Regions from separate parts of the Homo sapiens genome. Here all the other regions are linked to region 2. The links are contacts of gene promoters, found by promoter capture Hi-C in human tissues and cell types (Jung and others, 2019). All regions are on one chromosome and are shown on one strand. Each heading gives the region's core, a stretch centred on a gene start or on the middle of the fragment in contact. The rest is flanking DNA. Distances are from core to core; before and after follow the strand shown. Region 1 overlaps LINC02965 (long intergenic non-protein coding RNA 2965). Region 2 holds the start of ZNF599 (zinc finger protein 599). Region 3 overlaps ZNF302 (zinc finger protein 302). Region 4 overlaps LINC00904 (long intergenic non-protein coding RNA 904).

The links. Contacts are between HindIII fragments. The study calls those that stand out against the background at their distance.
Region 1: a contact is called between a fragment that was not itself captured here and the fragment with the promoter of ZNF599 in region 2, in 2 of the 25 tissues and cell types used here (H1 embryonic stem cells and spleen).
Region 3: a contact is called between a fragment that was not itself captured here and the fragment with the promoter of ZNF599 in region 2, in 3 of the 25 tissues and cell types used here (bladder, dorsolateral prefrontal cortex and mesenchymal stem cells).
Region 4: a fragment that was not itself captured here is called in contact with the fragment with the promoter of ZNF599 in region 2 in 2 of the 25 tissues and cell types used here (dorsolateral prefrontal cortex and thymus).

What each region holds. Positions count from the first base shown.
Region 1 is chr19:34,842,221-34,844,956 of GRCh38, forward strand. The region is part of intron 3 of LINC02965 (long intergenic non-protein coding RNA 2965); the gene reads left to right. Among named protein-coding and RNA genes, the nearest start is that of LINC02965, 4.9 kb to the left of the region's middle. The HindIII fragment of the contact is 8,258 bases long and covers 1-2,736 here.
Region 2 is chr19:34,771,844-34,774,543 of GRCh38, forward strand. It overlaps ZNF599 (zinc finger protein 599), which reads right to left and starts at 1,372. Exons shown (of 4, transcript NM_001007248.3): 1 at 981-1,372. The coding sequence starts at 998. It overlaps LOC124904696 (a long non-coding RNA gene), which reads left to right and starts at 1,504. Exons shown (of 2, transcript XR_007067234.1): 1 at 1,504-1,851; 2 at 2,424-2,700. RefSeq lists a silencer at 1,023-1,082 and an enhancer at 1,193-1,302. The HindIII fragment of the contact is 7,437 bases long and covers 1-2,700 here.
Region 3 is chr19:34,684,109-34,686,808 of GRCh38, forward strand. ZNF302 (zinc finger protein 302) reads left to right here. Exons shown (of 5, transcript NM_001289187.2): 5 at 144-2,288. The coding sequence ends at 1,129. Among named protein-coding and RNA genes, the nearest start is that of ZNF302, 7.8 kb to the left of the region's middle. The HindIII fragment of the contact is 3,944 bases long and covers 1-2,700 here.
Region 4 is chr19:34,890,164-34,892,863 of GRCh38, forward strand. LINC00904 (long intergenic non-protein coding RNA 904) reads right to left here. Exons shown (of 6, transcript NR_187844.1): 6 at 1,669-2,133. Among named protein-coding and RNA genes, the nearest start is that of LINC00904, 14 kb to the right of the region's middle. The HindIII fragment of the contact is 4,130 bases long and covers 1-2,700 here.

The DNA of each region.
Region 1 (2,736 bases), core at 1-2,500, 70 kb after region 2:
AAAAGGTTGGGGACTGCTGCCCTAGACCAGCTTTCTGGATTCTGGCTGAAACGGACAACTTACCAATATTAATTCTTCACTCCACCAGCTGATACACACACACACACACACACACACACACACACACACACACACATTTGTACGTGTATTAGTATACGGCAGTTTACAGAAAAATAATTGTTTTATATATATTGATCTTGTATACTAGCACCTTGCAAAATTCATACCTTACTTTTTATAATTTTTTATAGATGGATTATAGGATTTTCTGCATACACAATCAGGATTTCTGTGCATTGAGTAGTTTACCCTTTCCTTTTAAATCTGTATGATTTTAATTTTTCTTATCCTCCACATTTGCTGCAACCTCCAATACAACATTGAATCCAAGAGAAGTCAATGGACTTCATTTTCTACTTCCTGATCTTGGGGGGAAAATATTCAGTATGCTGTTAACTGAAGTTTTTTTTCGTTCAATGCATGCATTATCACATAAAAGAAATAAGGAAATTCCGTCCACTTCCTACTTTACTGAAAGATTTTTTTTGAAAGGAATATTAGCTTTTTTCGATTAGTTTGTTCACAACTATTGAGATGAATTGTATCGGCTGATTCTTTTCTAATAGCTTTTTTGAGAGACAATTCATGTAAAATACAATCCATGTATTTGAAGTATAGAATTCAATGGCTATTAGTCTATTCACAGAAATGTGCAACCATCAACACAATTTTGTAAAGTATTCATCACCCCAAAAAGAATCTTTGTACACCTTAGCCATCACCTTCTAATACCCCCACACCTCCCAGTTCTAGGCAAGCATTAATCGACTTTCTCTCTTTGAGTTTACCTACTCTGGACATTTCCTGTATGAAACCATAGACTATGTGGTTCTTTCTGGCTGGATTCATTCATGTATTATAATAGTTTTATATGGCATATACATAACACAAAATTTACCATTTTAACAATTTCTAAATGTACAATTCACTGGCATTTAGTACATTTATATTGTTGTATAACCATCGCCACTATTCATCTCCAGAACTTTTTCATCATCCTAAATTGAAACTCTGTACCTATTAAACAATAACTCCCCAGCACACATTCCCCACAGCTCTGGTAACCACTATTCTGTCTCTATGAATTTGCCTATTCCAGGTATATCATATAAGTAGAATGACACCTTTGTCCTTCTATGTCCAGGTTGTTTTACCTGGCATAGTTTTTTTTCAGGTTTTATCCATATTGTAGCATGTATTAGAATTTCCTTCCTTTTGAGGCTGAATAATATGCCATTGTATGTTTTGTTTCCCCATTCCTACATTGCTGGATACCTGGGTTGCTTCCAGCTTTTGGCTATTGTGGATGATTCCACTATGAACATGGGGTACTACTGGGAAATAGAGTAGAATGAACCTGACATTTATTCAACAACACAGACACATCTCAAAACCATTATGCTTATCAAATACCCACACCCAAAACTGCATACTCTGATTCTGTGTATAACAAATTTTAGAAATAGCAAGATTAATATGAAATGTCAGAAAGCGGATAAATGGTTGTTTGTGGTTAGATATGCGGAGGAACTAACAACAAAGGAGCATAAGGGGATTTTTTAGGATGATGGAAATGATCTGTACCTGAATTGTGGTGGGGCCTTGAGTGTACACATTTGTTAAAACTTAGCGAACATAAAACAGGTGCATTTTTCATGTAAATTTTACCTCCAAAAGGTTTATCCGAAAAAAAACATTTGATGCAAAGGCAGTCACAACGTCATGCTAACGTCGTTGATTGTTTTATAGGCAACTGCTATTGCAGTTGACGATATGAAATTGACGATAATTAGGGCAGAGATAGACTATGTGGTTCTTTGTGGCTGGGCTCACTTACGTAGCGTAATGGTTTTATATTGTGTATAAACAACATAAAATTTACCATTTTAACAATTTTTAAATGCACAATTCACTGGCAATAAGTACATTTATATTGATGTACAATTATTGCCACTCTCCATCTCCAAAACTTTTGTTCATAACTGCTATGGTAGTTTGTAATATATTTTAGACAATTCATTTAGAAAAGATTAATGCTAAGGAAGGGGTATGGTGGATAATAGGAAGGCAAGCAGTGGGGGTGCTGGGCAGGGGGTAAGGCAGGAAGAAAGACAAAGCAGCAAGTAAGCTTAGATGCAGAGAAGGCTTGCTGACATGCGGACCTTGTCCGAGCATCTGTTGCAACATACCCTGATGAGAAGTTCATGTGCAATGAAACTCCAACTCCTGGGACCTATGTGTGGAACACTGGGACCCTGACCCCGTCAGATCAGTCAGATCCCCTTTCTCCAGAGCAGATTGGTCAGCACAGGGAGACAACAGCTCAGATCTTCGCCCTGTGAGATCACTTATGGGAGGGGCTGCCCCGACCCCCCACATCTGACTCCCCCATGCTATAGTTTGGTTTGTTTGACCCCTCCAAATCTCATGTTGCAATGTGATCCCCAGCGTTAGAGGTGGAGCCTGATGGTAAGTGTTTGGGTCATGGGGTTGGAGCCCCCATGATGTCTTGGAGCTTTCCTCACAGTGATGAGTGAGTTCTCACTCTATTAAGCCCTGCAAGAGCTGATTGTTAAAAACAGCCTGGCACCTTCCTCCCCTCCTCTCTCGCTTCTTCTCTTGCCTAGTGATCTTTGCACATGCCAGCTCCTCTTTGCCAGCCTAAGGCCCTCACCA
Region 2 (2,700 bases), core at 122-2,621:
GTTGGGGGACAGATCCTCAGCAATAAACAATCAAGATAAAGTCAGAAGACTCTAGAAAACAACACAAGAGTGAGAAGACCACAAAGACTGGGAGAGACTTTACATGATGCAACCAGGGAAGCTCTCTCTGAAGAGACCCTGGAACAAGGTTAGATTGAAGTTAGAGAACAGACCAGGTGAGGAAAAATGAATAGACAACTCCTGAAGGTGATCAGAGCTACGAGGAGTAAACAGTGTGACATGCTGGAGAGTAACTTGGGGCCTTATGTGCTCACACTCCAAGAGACATACATTCATGTACACTGTCATTAATGAATATTGTGCTGGATTTGCTTTTCAAATACAAGAGCATGTGTTAAACAGAAGCACGGATTCACTGCTGTTAGGCGGCAAGCCAGATTCATTTGTAATAAACAGACGGCATCTGCAAAGATAAATCCAATGAGCTTCTTGTCTTCTAGCCTCCTGCCAAAAATGCTGCTCCCGCCTCACCTCTTGCCCTCGAGGCTCTCATTCCCTCTCCCAGCTTTTGGTAGGGCCAGACTTCCGCTGGAATGATCCCCTAAAACAACAGCAGGACCTAGAGAGTCCTTCTTCAAAGACGGCACCTAGAGTGATGCTCTCCGAGCAGTGAAAGACAGGACCCACGTCACAAGCGTACCCTCTCCAGCTCCCTCCACAGAGAAAATTACTGAGACTCGCATTTTAGACCCGAGGGAATGGAGGCCGAGGGCAGCGAGGCGACAGCTCCAGGTTAGAGCCAGAGACAGGGACCTCTCCTTACAACTCCTGTCCTGGATTCAGGACCCTGGGTAGGAAGTGATTAGCCCTGCCCTCTCACCTCACCCTCTCCCGGGATCTCCATAACCTAGGGCATCAAAAGGGAGAAGCACAGAGTCCCGGCATCCGCCGTATTACAGCGGATGGGTGCATGCGGGCGGTGACCCGAGCTCGCGCGGGCTGCGGAACCCTCCACTCACCAACGCCGGCGCCGCCATGGGCCCAGGGGGCTGGGTGAGGCCGTGAGAGTCGGCGAGGAAGCCGGTCCTGCGGGCTCGGCCGACCCCGGGCTCCGGCTCTGGGCTGCGAGGGACCTCAGTCCCCGCCGTCGTGTAAAATGCACACAAGGTTCGCGGCGCCGCCTCTGCGCGCCGTGAGGACACAGGGCTGTCGCCAAGGCCCCAGGAAGGGTTTTGCAGACGCTTGTGGGGGTGGGATCGCGGCTGACATAAAAGCGTGTAAGTGGGTCCTATCCTCCTCACTGTCCGTCTCTACTCGGTCTCGAAAAGTGGCCCCTGTCTGGCGTTCTACCCAGTGTAGCGTTGGCAACCACAGCAGCCGCAACCTAACGGCGGACGAAGACTGGACGCCGGAAGTCCCGCCCACGCCGCTACGGGAACGCCCCTCTGCGCCTTCCGTCTATGGCTTGGGGTCGGCTTCCGTCCCTTGTAGCACTGCCTTCTGGGTAATGTAGTTTGACGGAATCCGGGTGGTACCTGGAGCGCACTTTCTGTTCTCGGTGAGGCGGCTTCTCAAGGCTCCCAAGAAAGGGATTGGCTTCACCTCTTCTTAAAGGAGAGGCACACAGAGTTCCGTGGAAATTATCTGAGGCAATGACCCACTCTCAAATGTCTCTACCAGGCAACTCACGCCTTGACTTTCCTCCCTGTGTATCCCTGCGCCAGCAGTTCATCTCTCTGAGCCTTGAGATGGAGATTCCTAAGGAAAATGAAGATAATTATTTAATATGATAATATTAAAATTTCCCCTATCAGTAATTTTCAGATGACATCAGCATTACCTGCGAATTTGTTACCAATGCAAGTTCTTAGTCCCCACCCACTGAATCAGGTACTCTGGGGGGTGGGACCCAGCCCTCTGCTTAACTTGTCCAGGAAAAGTGGATGCTGCAAAACATTTGAGAACCAGACTCTTTAAATTCCAGTAAATAAATGAGACAAAGCCACCTGTTTGGTGGGAAGTAACTAAGAATTGCTTAGCACTGGGCCTGGAACATACCGATAAGAACATAAGAGCTATTGCTGTCATTATTAATATTCTGTATTATTGGCAACATCATCACAATACACTGCTAGGGGAGGGTCTGAGATACTTCTTTGCAGACTCTGATATTTGTCAAAACAAATACGTTGACTGATTCAACAGGAGCCTCATGAATACTGTTTAAATTTTACATAATAATACGTTGCAGCATTTGGCGTATGCATCTTTTTAAAACGGTATATGCAGGAGGGTTTCCTAATATACAGGTAGACCTATTGCCCAAGGGATACTTTCTTACATGATTCAAAACTTAGGATCACTGAGACTAATTACCTGCAGCCCTAAGGGAAGAGTGGAGTTGACATGGTTTCTAGTTTGTGATGTAAGATGGCGTGTCACTGTTCATCTCTAATTCACAGCAACCAGGATCTGACCCCTCCCCATCTGCCCCTCCAGCCCCCAGGGAAGCCAGAACCAGGCACAAACCAGATGGCCCAGCTTATGCCCAGCAACTCAGGGTCACCAGATCTTGTCTCATCAAGACACTTTCAGCCCACCACCCAAACCTGTAGCCCACATGAAGAGGGCAATAATCCTGGACACTGTGAAAAGTAAAAGCATTACATCCAAAGAGGCATCCCCAGGATGGAGCAGAAATAAGAAAACATAATGAAGACACAATTTTGCAATCACTTC
Region 3 (2,700 bases), core at 40-2,539, 88 kb before region 2:
TCTGGGTGCTTCATTTCTTATCCAATTCTCCTAATTCCACTGTAGAAGCTTTTTTCAAGAAGTAAAAAAAAAAAAAAAAAAAAAAAAAAAAAAAAAAAAAAAAAAAAAAAAAGGCAGTGCTTTGCTTTCTTGATATATTTCAGATTGGGAATCAAGATGGGAAAACAAGGAATTATCAACAAAGAAGGATATTTATGATGAAGATTCACCCCAACCAGTAACAATGGAAAAAGTTGTAAAACAAAGTTATGAATTTTCAAATTCTAATAAGAATTTGGAATATACAGAATGCGACACATTTAGAAGCACCTTTCATTCAAAGTCTACTCTTTCTGAACCACAAAACAATTCTGCTGAAGGGAATTCACACAAATATGATATATTAAAGAAGAATTTATCAAAAAAGTCAGTTATAAAAAGTGAGAGAATAAATGGTGGAAAGAAACTTTTAAATTCTAATAAAAGTGGGGCAGCCTTCAACCAGAGCAAATCTCTTACCCTTCCCCAGACTTGTAATAGAGAGAAAATCTATACATGCAGTGAATGTGGGAAAGCCTTTGGCAAACAGTCAATCCTCAGTCGCCACTGGAGAATTCATACAGGAGAGAAGCCCTATGAATGTCGTGAATGTGGGAAGACTTTTAGCCATGGTTCATCCCTTACACGACATCAGATAAGCCATAGTGGAGAGAAACCTTACAAATGCATTGAATGTGGGAAGGCCTTTAGCCATGGCTCATCACTTACTAACCATCAGAGCACTCACACGGGAGAGAAACCGTATGAATGTATGAACTGTGGAAAGTCTTTTAGTCGTGTGTCCCTTCTCATTCAGCATCTAAGAATTCATACGCAAGAAAAACGCTATGAGTGTCGTATATGTGGAAAGGCCTTCATTCATAGTTCGTCTCTCATTCACCATCAGAAAAGCCATACTGGAGAGAAGCCTTATGAATGTAGAGAATGTGGGAAAGCTTTCTGCTGTAGCTCACACCTTACTCAACATCAAAGAATTCACAGTATGAAGAAAAAATATGAATGCAACAAATGTCTCAAGGTCTTTAGTAGCTTCTCATTTCTTGTTCAACATCAGAGTATTCATACTGAAGAAAAACCGTTTGAAGTTTAGAAATGCAGGAAATCCTTCAACCAGCTTGAATCACTGAATATGCATTTGAGAAATCACATTAGATTGAAACCCTACGAATGCAGTATATGTGGGAAAGCCTTTAGTCATAGGTCGTCCCTGCTTCAACATCACAGTATTCATACTGGAGAGAAACCTTACGAATGTATTAAATGTGGGAAGACCTTCAGCTGTAGTTCAAACCTTACTGTACATCAGAGAATTCATACTGGAGAAAAGCCATATAAATGTAGTGAGTGTGGGAAAGCTTTTAGCAAAGGCTCGAATCTTACTGCCCATCAAAGAGTACATAATGGAGAGAAACCCAATAGTGTGGTAAGTGTGGAAAAGCCTTTAGATCATATGAATCCCTATACATGTGAGAAATCTTACAGAAGAGAAGCAGTGTTTATCACGGTAAACTTCATTCATAGATCCTCCCTTATTTAACATCAGAAAAATGTATACTGGGGAAAAGTTGTATGAAGGTGGTGAACATGGGAGACTTTTAGCAATGATGCAGATTTTTTTATTAGAGTTTATACTGTAGAGAAATCATATGAAGTCAATAAATGTGGGAAAGCCTTTGTCAGTATTAATCCCTTAATTGACCTAAGTATACTCACACTAGGAAAAATCTGTGTACATGTAGCAAATGTGGGAAAGACTATAGGCAATAGGAATCTCCTGCAAACTCCTACAGGAGAAAAGTTGTATGAATGTGGAAACTTTAGAAATTGAAGGAATTTTTCAGTTCCAAGTGCATCCCTTATTCTATAGGAAATAAACTGGAGACAAATCTCATTTAAGAGATGCAGCAAAGTGTTCACTAAGAGTGTTTATCTTGCCAGACATAAGAAGATGAATGGTAGAGCAACCTGAAGGATTTAGAAATTACATATAAATCTTTGCAGTTATGCTATTTGTAAACAGGATTATATAGGAGAGCAAATAAACATAAGTATGCATTTCTTAGAGCAGTAGCTTGCAGTTTCAGTTGAGTTCTACTTAGAAATTCTTTTTAGCTAGTGGGCATGTGAAGATATTTAGTCACCCAGAGGAGCCAGTAAATGTTATAATGTTAAAAATTAAAGCTGCAAAAGAAATAAAATGGTGTTAATAAAAATTTGGCATCTAATAAAATCATTTTGTATATCATGAACTCTTTCTCTGTGACTGTTTGCGACAAAAAAAAATTTCACTAAGATTAGCCTTAGTATAGCCTTTAGCGGGAGACTAGCAAACTTCGAGAAGAATGGCCTGCTCTTTATACTAAGAATAGCAGTATTTTGGTGAGGATTATTGAGTCCATATCCAGTAGGCTTAATTAAATACATTTCAAGAACATTTACTGAGCATTACTCATGTGTATTACACAGGGATGGGATAAAGGAATCTAGTAGTTCTGAGCTCTAGTGCTGTGTCGAAATCACTGGAAGGACGTGTTAAAGCACAGATTGCTAAGCCTCAGTCCTAGAGTTTCTGTATGAGTTGATTTGAATTTGCATTTTTCACACGTTCTTAGGGGACACTAACACTGTTTGTCCAGAATATAATAATAATGTTATGGTGTC
Region 4 (2,700 bases), core at 9-2,508, 120 kb after region 2:
TGATTCTGCAGTCACCTCCACTCCAGTATACAACCCGTCTTCAGACTTGGTGTCTCCGCCTGACTTTGCCTCTAAGGAAATCAACATGGGTACCATGCCCATGTCCCCATCTGTTATCATCCTGTCTCTCCCTGCAATGTTAACAGCTGTTTCCCTTTGAGAAACCTGCCAGCCCCTGAAAACCCTTCACACTTAACCTCTACTGCAGCCCTAGAACCCAATGGCAGCACAACTCAGTTGGCTTTTGGGAACTAAACACTCCCGTGTCCACTTTGGCATCAATGTCAGCATTCAGGCAGCCCATGGTGGTGCCTCGGGTGTTTTACCCATTGGTGTGGACACTCTTACTCTTGCCATGAAATGCTACCAGAAAGCACAACACTGAGGACTGTTGCTCATTTCTTGCTGATGCCAATCCAAGCCAATTTGTATTTGTGGGATCTGAAGCCCTTATGGATAGCAAAAGCTTTGGGGTCATTGGGTCTACCACGCAGAGTCTACCACCACATCTAGATCGCTTAGCTTTGGAGCAAAATGGCTGGGGGACAGCCAGTACCACAGCTCATGATGGGGGAGGCTTAGACCTGAGCGCCAGGGTCCTGTCAGCCCTGATGCACTCCTGCTGCAATTGGAGAAGCCGGCACTGCTGAGAGCAAATCAAATCTGCCCTGGGAAACACTTTCCTTCCCACCTGTAGTTAGAGCACCTGGTGCCAGCCCAGCCAAAACACGCCTACTACTACTGGAAGATTTGTGATCACTGAGAAGGAGTGTTTCAGAAGACATGGCTGTTCCCCCTTTTGTTCAGATCACCTGGGACCTGTTTGGCCAGAGCACTTGTGTTCCAGTGGAAGGGACCAGCACCATACCTGTGCTGAGATCCTTCTCTTCCTGCCCCAGTCAAGCCACCTGGGGCACACCTAACTAAAGTACACCTGTTGCAGTCTAAGGGACCAGCACTGCATCTATGCTCGGATGCCTTTATGTTCCTACCTATAGCCAGAACACCTGAATCCCACCTGTCCAGGGCACGTGTGTTGCAATGGAAGGGGCCAACATCATACCTATTTTTAGAGAGTCTTCTCTTCCTGCATATGGTCTAAGTACTGGGGCCCACCTGGCCAGAGCAAACCTGCTGGAGATACCTGCACCACTGAGAAGAAATGCATGCCACGTGATATATCTGTTCATTCCTTCCATCAGACACCTAGGGCCCACCTGTGCTGTTTGAAGGGCTGGCATTTCACCTGTGATTGGAGATGCTACTGGCAGAGGACCTGGGGTACACAGTCTGGAGCACAGGTGATACACTGGGCGGAGGCAGCCCCATTCCTGGGCTCCAGGGTATTTGTATGCTCAGCATCATTGACAGCTGCTGGCGTGGTCTTGCCCAGGGCACATCTGTTACAGTCTCCCAGGAGAACACCATACATACACCTTTAGGAAGACACTTCTATTCCTGCACTCACTCACAATACCTGGGCTCTATCTAGACAAAGTAGCCCTCTGACTTGGTGTAGTGAACACCATTGAGAAAATACCTGGCTATGGGCCAGTTTTCCATTAGTCTTAGACTGGCAGGACCCCTTGCTGCCTATAGATATCCCGTTTTGTCTTGCCCATTTGCCTTAACAAGCCCCGTTCTTTCTTTTCCAGATTGCTATACAAATATGATATAACATAGCCTTGTTCTTATTCATTAATCCTCTGTGCTAAGCTTCAGCACTTTTGCTCCATCTTTCAGGGCAAATGTACCTCCAGCATGAGCATGGAAGCAGCAGTCTCGCTTAGGACACATTTGTCACCTGCCCAGGCTTCCTTTGGAGGCCAAAGTTTGGGATCACCAACTCATTCATTTTCTTCTAGTGAAAGAAACAATATCTCATCAACTTTAAGCAAAAGCTATCCAGAAGTAGCTGATAGTGGTGGGGGACCACAGTTTGCCATAAATGGACCTTGCTCCATTAGGAAGAGGCTCCACCTCTTCTAGTTATGTCAAACAAACTTAACCTGCCCTCTATCATCCTAAAGAAAGCTGGCAGCCCAACCCTTCAGGTGTTTTGTATATATGTTAAAGGGTGTGGGTTCAGATGAGACTGGTCAGAAGTCAACACACTGGCCTTGAGGCAGTCTACTGTGGAAAGAAGAAAAAGATCAGTAAGTATATCCACCACACCATACCCAGTTTCAACTTCTCAGTCTGGTAGAACCAAGCTATGGGCCAGTTTTCCTGCCATCTTACGCTGGCAGGACCCCTTGCTGCCTGTAGCTGCCTCCTTTGGTCCAGCCCATTTGCCTCAGTGGGCCCTTTTCTTTCTTTCCTAGACTGATAAACACACACACACATATATATATACACACACATATATGTTATATGTGTATATATATATACACACACATATAATGTATATGTATGTGTATATATATACATATATACATCACGTGTGTGTATATATATATATATAGAGAGAGAGAGAGAGAATGCCTTCCTTTTGTTCATTGATCCTCTCTGCTTACATGTCTTTTCTATTTTAGTCAACGGTGGAAGAAGAATTGACTTCTTTCTATAAGTGGTGCTGTGTTGAGGCAGATGTAACTTTTCAAAGTTCTATGGCTCAGCAAATAGGAGGTGGCATAGCCACACTTTACAACTGCACAGGCTGACATCTGACATCTCTGTGTTTTGATGTAAAGGATAGCA